3 separate regions of the Homo sapiens genome follow, and all the other regions are linked to region 1. Evidence: promoter capture Hi-C in human tissues and cell types (Jung and others, 2019). All regions are on one chromosome and are shown on one strand. The core of a region is centred on a gene start or on the middle of the fragment in contact, and the rest is flanking DNA. Distances in the headings are between cores, read along the strand shown. Region 1 holds the start of AKAP12 (A-kinase anchoring protein 12). Region 2 overlaps AKAP12 (A-kinase anchoring protein 12). Region 3 has its middle 62 kb from the start of AKAP12.

What was found. The method cuts DNA at HindIII sites, captures the fragments that hold promoters and counts their contacts. A contact is called where the count stands out against the background at its distance.
Region 2: a contact is called between a fragment that was not itself captured here and the fragment with the promoter of AKAP12 in region 1, in 1 of the 25 tissues and cell types used here (mesenchymal stem cells).
Region 3: a contact is called between a fragment that was not itself captured here and the fragment with the promoter of AKAP12 in region 1, in 2 of the 25 tissues and cell types used here (aorta and mesenchymal stem cells).

What each region holds. Positions count from the first base shown.
Region 1 is chr6:151,238,507-151,241,249 of GRCh38, forward strand. AKAP12 (A-kinase anchoring protein 12) reads left to right here and starts at 1,461. Exons shown (of 5, transcript NM_005100.4): 1 at 1,461-1,553; 2 at 1,878-2,218. The coding sequence starts at 2,057. RefSeq lists enhancers at 1,264-1,773, 1,851-2,428. The HindIII fragment of the contact is 7,486 bases long and covers 1-2,743 here.
Region 2 is chr6:151,301,128-151,303,921 of GRCh38, forward strand. All of the region lies in intron 2 of AKAP12 (A-kinase anchoring protein 12), which reads left to right. Among named protein-coding and RNA genes, the nearest start is that of AKAP12, 63 kb to the left of the region's middle. The HindIII fragment of the contact is 3,419 bases long and covers 1-2,794 here.
Region 3 is chr6:151,177,065-151,179,869 of GRCh38, forward strand. No RefSeq gene overlaps it. Among named protein-coding and RNA genes, the nearest start is that of AKAP12, 62 kb to the right of the region's middle. The HindIII fragment of the contact is 8,350 bases long and covers 1-2,805 here.

The DNA.
Region 1 (2,743 bases), core at 211-2,710:
CTCCTGCCAATGGTAAAATGAGAATAATACTATCTATCCCATGGGGTTATTGTAAAGATTATTATGTAAAGTGCATTGAACAGTGCCTGGTACAGAGTAAGAATTCTAATGTTTCCTAAATAGTCAAAATTTAAGTCAAAATGGGGGAAATGTGTATAAATTCCTAAAACTAAGCATTTTGCAAATATACTGTTTCTTAAGAGATAAACTCCAGAGAAATTGGCCTTCGTGTAGTCCTTTAAATAAAAATAATTAATTCAGAAAACAGGCCCAGTGTGGTGGTTCACACCTATAATCCCAGCACTTTGAGAGGCCAAGGCAGGAGGATCGCTTGAGCTCAGGAGTTCAACACTAGCCTGGGCAACACAGCGAGACCTTGTCTCAAAAAAAGAAAAAGAAAAAAAATTAATTCAGAAAACAAATTTGATGGTGAGTAACTAACCTATGGTTCCCAGGGTACCATTCGATTCATGCAATTCATTAGGCATGAAACATCCTAGTGCTGAACTACTGCTTACACCCTTTCTACAAAATTGTACTAAATCTGAGTATGAGATATTTATCTGGAATTTGGTGTGAATATTCCGAAAGTTTCTTCCTTCTTTCTTTCTTTTTTTTTTTTGACAGAATCTTGCTCTGTCGACTAGGATGGAGTGCAGAGGCACAGTCATAGCTCACTGCAGCCTCGAATTCCTGGGCTGAAGTCATCCTTCTACCCCAGCGTCCCCAGCCTCCTGAGTAGCTAGGACTACAGGTGCACCACTGCGCCTGGCTAATTTTTTTATTTTTTGTAGAGACAAGGTCTCGCTATGTTAACCAGGCTGGTTTCTTCATTCTTAATGGAGATTCAAAGTATTTGTGAAAACTGGGGCACTCGGTTGCTAGTTACAACTGGAATAAATTTTGTCTTTCAGCCCCAAAGCCTTAATGCTTTGCGCCAAGCAATCCAGCTACAAATTTAATTTAGTTCAAATACTTATTGATTGGCTGCCATGCTCATGTAATACATATTATATTCAAGGGTCGGAAATGAAAGGATGCAAGCCACTTGTGCTGGTATTATTTAAAGTCTTCATCTTTTGAGAAAGGCTGACGGCAAAGGAACAGATCTATGCTGTCATGTGTCGGCATCGCGCGGAGCAGAGGTGGCCTGGATGGGTAACTTCCAGCACAGGCCCTCAAAGAAGGACGGGCACATTTCCGGTAACAGCCTCATTTCCCCCCGTTCCCCGGGGGAAGGGGGGCGGCTAGCACTGCTGATGGCATCGCCTGACATCACTTGTTCCGGAGGATAGGAGAGCGTGGGCCTGCGTGGCCCACCTCATCCGTGGCCTGACTGCGTTAACCTCTCGGTTCCCTGCTCTTGCCACGTGAGGTGCCCAAATATGGTCGGACTCAGGAGGAGCCAGGGAGCGCTTGCCTTTCTCCTGCTAATGGGGAGGAGGCTGGAACAAATGTTTGGAGTTAAACACAATCTGCAGGAAAGCAAATGGGGACTCGGACTCGCTCCTGGGCGAGCTGAAAGTCGGCTGCAGCAGAAGCTCCTGCCTTGGGTGATCCATCATTTAATAAACCCCAGAGAATCCAGTGTCCCCGGCAGGCTTTTTGCTCCCCTGCTCTCTTGCCTTCTGAGGCCCTGGGTCGTCCCCGCAGCTCTAGTCGCCCTGTTAGAAACGGGAGGCGCCCGAGGGCCGGGTGGGCGGCTGCCTGGACCTGGGCTGGCGCGTCGCAGCGCCTCTGGTCCCGGCAGCCTGGGGGCAGATGCTGCTGCAGGGCGTGTCTGGGGCTGTGCTCATGTGATGAAGCGAGGGAAAAACCGGGGGGAGGGGGGCGGAGGCTAAGAGGTGGCCTTTTTTTTTTTTTCCTTTTCTTTTAAGGAGTTTGCCGCGAGCGCGTCTCCTTCATTCGCAGGCTGGGCGCGTTCGCAGTCGGCTGGCGGCGAAGGAAGGCGCTCTCGGGACCTCGCGGGCGCGCGTCTTTTGGCTCTTGCCCCTGTCCCTGCGGCTTGGGGAAGGCGTAACCCGGCGGCTAGGCGCGGGAGAAGTGCGGAGGAGCCATGGGCGCCGGGAGCTCCACCGAGCAGCGCAGCCCGGAGCAGCCGCCCGAGGGGAGCTCCACGCCGGCTGAGCCCGAGCCCAGCGGCGGCGGCCCCTCGGCCGAGGCGGCGCCAGACACCACCGCGGACCCCGCCATCGCTGCCTCGGACCCCGCCACCAAGGTACGGGCGTGCCGGGCCACCTGCGCCGGGAGGCGCGGGTCTTTGGGGGTGGGGGTGGGGGTGGGGGGGTCCCTCCGATTTCCGCCGAGAGAACTTCCCAGCCCATCCAGCCGCATCTGCAAACTCAGGAGTGCGAACCCCTCTTTGGAGGCTTTTCAGGGTCTTTCGCGCCGGGGCGGGGCCAGAGCAGCGGCGAGCGCGGCGGGGGGCTTGCATCTTTGTCGCGGGTCTCCAGGGGAGGCGACTGCGCCATGCGCAATAATAAAACCCGCGCCCTGCCCACGGCGGCTGAGCCTTTCTGCGCACTCTTCCGGTGGGAGCCATGCAGCCCGAGGCGGAGGAGCTGCGCGGAGGGGGATCCGTGGAGAATGGACCCCGGGCCGGGCCTCCGGAGCTCCGAGATGCGGAAAGTCAGCTGTGAGGCCAGGACTCGTGGTGGAGCCCGCCGGGGAGCCCAGCCACCCTCGGGTTCCCCGTCGCGTACCGCCCTGGATGCCAGCGGTGCCTGGAGCGAGCGGGTTTGGT
Region 2 (2,794 bases), core at 241-2,740, 63 kb after region 1:
ATGAATCCCATCTGGTTCCACCGCCTCCTGTCCCATGTGCCACTATGTTGTGTCTGCATCTTTCAGGGTCTCTCTGGGCAGAGCTGTGTGTAAATCCTGTCTTCTGTGGCCATTTGAGTTGCAGACAGGAGAGACTGATTGAAGTTAAGCAAGGTGCGTGTTTATTAATAAAGAAATGTACCCACAATGTATGAAACCATCAGGTCATAAAATAACACGTGTTCCCCATTATTTTTTAAGTGAATGCTTGTGCCTGTATATATACACACGTAGAAAACACAGAAAAGACTTAAATGAATGTAGGTTTGATTTCCTCTATTTGAGGTGACTTTAACTTATTGATAACTCTCAGAAGTCCGTGAATTTTTAACAACGGTATGACTTATTTAGACGGTTTGGGGATGGAAGAAAAAACAAAAACACTTTTGATTTGGAGTGAAATAAAGGGAATTATCCATCTTTAACAACACGTGGGATTTGCAAAAGTGTGGACATGTCTGAATGTGACAATCTGACTAGGAATGAAGTCCCATTTTGTGCGGATGTTGGTGCCTCATAGGCTCTGAAAGCTCACCTGAGACATCACCCTTGAGGTCAAAGCTTGGGTACCCTGGCGGGACGCAAGCTATTCACATAGTAAAATAGACTCAAAACTCAGGTTCAGTAACGTCACTGTCATAAATCGTTTTCTACCGAAGTTAATAATGTATCTACGGCCTTTCTCAAGTAGGGACAGTTACCCTGTGGTTACTGAAAATTAGTATCTCATAATGTATTCATTATCATACTTAGGATGTAAGGATGTGTAGCATTTGACCTCAGTTTTTAAGGGTCCTTCTTTTTATCATCTAATGTACTTTGCTATGTGTGTGTAACATCTCTTTTTTTTTTCTTTTTTTTTTTTTAAGAGACGGAGTCTCCCTCTGTTGCCCAGGCTGGAGTGCGTGATCTCAGCTCGCTGCAACCTCCGCCTCCCAGGTTCAAGTGATTCTCCTGCCTCAGCTTCCCTAGTAGCTGGGATTATAGGCGCACACCACCACACTTGGCTAATTTTTTGCATTTTTAGTAGAGACGGGGTTTCACCATGTTAGCCAGGATGGTCTCGATCTCCTGCCCTCATGATCTGCCTGCCTCGGCCTCCCAAAGTGCTGGGATTAAAGGCATGAGCCACTGCGCCTGGTGTAACATCTCTTTTTTAAATGATGTTTTTATTTGGAGACGAGGGTCTCTCTATGTTGTCCAGGCTGGCCTCAAACTTTTGGGCTCAAGCAATCCTCCTGCCTCAGTCTCCTAAGTGCTGGGACTACAGCGCACGTCACAGTGCCCGGCTCAGTAACATTTCTAAAAGAGTAGACGGAAATTTGTGCCTGTGTGCTATAGTCTTCATGTTTAAAGAGACTCAGTTTGGCTCCAACTAAAGATACCTTGGATTGGGCAATTCACAGAGGATTATAAGAATTTTTTCAATAATTTTAGGTACTTGGTAGAACCCTAAACTCTATAGAACTTCAGAGTTCTGGTTCCTAAATAAGAGGCACAATTGACCGAAGTTTATTGCATTGAAATTGAGGTATTAAGATGGCTTTTTTATGTTCCCTGTTTAGTTTGCCATATCATGAAACTGTGTATGTCAACAGTTTCTAGGTTTAAGATTCACTGGGTTACCATGTAGCCCACGATAATATGTGATTCCTGCTTTCCTCCCCCAACTTTTCTTCCTGTTACTAATCAAATCTAAGTCCTGTGTACATACTCAATGATATTTAGTTAGAATACTCTGACATTTGGCTGGGCGCAGTGGCTCATGCCTGTAATCCCAGCACTTTGGGAGGCTGAGGCGGGCGGATCAGCTGAGATCAGGAGTTGGAGACCAGCCTGGCCAACACGAAATCCCGTCTCTACTAAAAATACAAAAATTAGCTGGGCGCAGTGGCAGGCACCTGTAATCCCAGCTACTCGGGAGGCTGAGGCAGAAGAATCACTTGAACCCAAAAGGCGGATGTTGCAGTGAGCCAAGATCATGCCATTGGACTACCTGGGGGACAAGAGCGAAAATCCATCTCAAAAATAAAAATAAAAAAAAGAAATACTCTGACATTTTTGCAGATGGGCTTTGTGGAGACACACTGCCCCCTTCTCCATTCCCTACCCCCTGCTTTTGTCTTTAGGTTTCATTTAAAATGCCCATCTTTCATATTTTGGTAAGAGAAGACTTTAAGTGGAAATGTAATCTGAGTATTCTGTTTAATAAATGGACTCAGCATGGGCATTTTGAAGCCAACAATCCCATCTGTAGTGTAAGTATTAAACTACAGTGGTATTATTTCAGGAGGAAGCTCATGCAGTTGAAGGACAGCCTTGCTGGGAGCCGAGAACAGCCAGGTGAAATCAATTTAGCACAACTTAAGGCTTCTGGATTGCGTGTCTTGAACCCACTGTCCCTTCAGCGTTCAGGGTCTAAGTCAGTGGTGAGTCCAGAGTCATTCATTGGCCTGGAAGCAGGATGGAATGATGTCAGATGGAGTGCAGAGTTGAGATTGCTTTGTAGCATGCAGGTCTGTACCAGACCTTTTCCAGACCGGTTCCAGACCTGGAATACCCTTTAAGTCATTTTATAATTGTGTGTAGTAACAGGACCTTCAAAGCATGGCACGTATCTTTGTAATTGTGTGTAGTAACAGGACCTTCAAAACATGGCACCTATCTTTATAATTGTGTGTAGTAACAGGACCTTCAAAACATGGCACCTATCTTTATGTTGAGAGCCTCAAACAGAAAAACGCTGGAAATAGTT
Region 3 (2,805 bases), core at 157-2,656, 61 kb before region 1:
GATACAAAGGCAAAGGGATTGTTCCCGGAATTTTTCTGAGTAATTAAGTTACAGTTGCTATTTGCAAGTCACTGCAAAGGAAATCTTCCAGTAGATGCTACTTATTCAGCCATGTGTGCAAAACTAGATATTTCTTACATTAACATTGTAATTATATTTGGCATCATTTTTTGTTTTGCTTTAGATGGACAAAGATTAAGTCTTAAGTGTACAAGTCAGAGAAGGAGAAGACACATTTCTGATGCCTTTGAGTAATTCTGATCTGCTAAATTAGACACACAGCCTGGCATAGACCAACCCCAGTCCATTATCACAGACTGAAGACCAAAGAAAGGAATAAATGAAACCTGTAATGTGCTGAGCATTTTACATAAATCATCTTTGGAATTCTCACAATGCAAGGAAGATACCATTATCCCTATCTTAGCAGATAAAGAAAGCAAATCTCAGAGAGCTTTTACTCACTTTTCCAGGACCAGTCAGCTCTTAAGATGTAAAGCCAGGATTCTAGAACTGAATCATCTGATTTCAAAGCCTGAGCAAGGGGGAAGTGGTGCACGCCTGTAGTCCCAGCTACTAAAGAGGCTGAGGTGGGAGGATCCCTTAATCCTAGGAGTTTGAGTCCAGCCTGGGCAACATAGCAAGAACCAATCTCAAGAAAAAAATTAGCAATGCAAGACCATGAGCCCAGCTTCATACTGGTGGTATTTTTGGGGGATAATTAAGCTGTGTAACATGTAGCTTTTGATTTCCTTTTACAACTTCTCTCCTTAACACCTATAGATTTATTATCATCAAAATACAATGTAGTCTGGGCACAGCGGCTCACGCCTATAATCCCAGCACTCTGGGAGGCCGAGGCAGGTGGATCACCTGAGGTCAAGAGTTCGAGACCAGCCTGGCCAACATGGTGAAACCCTGTCTCTACCTGAAAATACAAAAATTAGTCAGGCATGGTGGCAGGCGCCTGTAATCCCAGCTACTCGGTAGGCTGAGGCATGAGAATCACTTGAACCAGGGAGGTGGAGATTGCAGTGAGCCAAGATCATGCCATTGCACTCCAGCCTGGGCGACAGAGCAAGACTCAGTCCCAAAGAAAAGGAAAAACATACAATGTAAAAAGCACAATCCAAGGAGCTGAAAACGCAAGAGAGAACTGCCTACCACCTTTGCTTGCCAGGAATTCACAGACTATTGGGAGAGAGAACACAAATATGAAACAATAAACAACCTATGGGTGGAATTGGGCTGAGCAACCAGGACCAGAAGCTTCTAGTGATGCCCCAATGCCCATTTCCCTTCTTCAGTAAGACAACCCTCCTGCCTCCTTCCACTAGATAAGACTGTAGCCATGTGGAACAGAGACTGTACTTATGGAATCCTTTATGGCAGTTTCATGTAAGTAAATTCTGTCTAGTGGGATGCAAGCAGAAAGGACAAGTGCAGTTTCTGACAGGGAGTCTTAAAGGAAAAGGACAATCCATTCCTCTTCCCTGCCTGTTAGAGCCTTGGCAGCCATCTTGAATCAGGAGGTGAGTTTGGAAGTGGAAGTCGCTCGTGGCAGAACTACCCATGGGAGAATCCCGGGGATCTGACTCTGAGGGGTGCAGCTCCTACCCTGGACTGCCCACCTCCATTCTTTTATGTGAAAGAGAAGTAAACTTCAATCTAACTTAAGCCATTGTTATTTTGGGTTTTTGTCATTGTAAGCAAGTTTAATCCTAACTATTAAAAAGGTACAGTTCTATAAGCACTCGCCACCTCCCCCAAATCCTACCAGGTGACCTTCATTCAGCAAGTGACTTAACCTTCCCCAGGGTGGCTGTGAGAACCCAGTGAGATCAACCCATGAGAGACCAGGAAAAAGCTCGCGGGGTTTTGAGTTGGCCTGTGTGATGCAGTGTGACTGGGGGAAACAAAGGAAGAAAACTAATACCCAGGACTCATCAATTCACAATTTCCTGAAGTGCTTCACGGTCAGCATGTGCAGAATAATTTCTAAAACTGTGTAGCCTTAGTCCCAGGGAGGCTGAGCTGGGAGGATCACCTGAGCCCAGGAGGTCGAGGCTGCAGTGAGCCGTGATCATGCCACTGCACTCCAGCCTGGATGACAGGGTGAGACCCTGTCTCAAAAATTTATTTATTTATTTGTTTGTTTATTTATTTATTTAATTAAATAAAACCATGTAGCACAGACATTAAGTTCTTTGTAGATTCAGAGCTGATAAAATTTGTGTGCTGCAGTAAATGATTAAAGGTTTGATGAGGGAGATGAAGTATGAGTGGGGTGTTAAGAAATGAATCCGATTTGGTATGCAAGTCATGACTCCTAACTACAAGTTATGGAAAATCAACCCTGTTTGGAAAAACAAAAAAAAAGTGGGTGGGGAGGAGGTTGGTGGTTGAATCATGTAATTAAAAAGGCAAGAAGTAAGCTCAGGGAAGGCTGGATGGAGACCAAATGATGTCATTAGGATGCGGTCTCAGCTCTGCTTTCCTGAGTTCATTGCATTTTCATAAGGCAAGGAGTGGTGTCTGGCAGCTGTGGATGTACATCCTATCAGCTCAGCAACCCAGGTGGAAAATACCTTCTTCCTTAGGGCTGCAGAGAAACCCTCAACCTACCTGACTCCCTGTGCCTCTGATTCTGCAGACCTGGGTCATGTTCCCACCCCTGGAGTGGATAGGGGCAGAAGAATGTAGCCTCAGCCCCATCCAAACTGCAAGAATTAAGAGTTCCAAAAGGGTGGTTTTCCAAAAGGAAAAGTGAGGTGCTATTGGCAGGAGAAGGGGAGTTGATGCTGG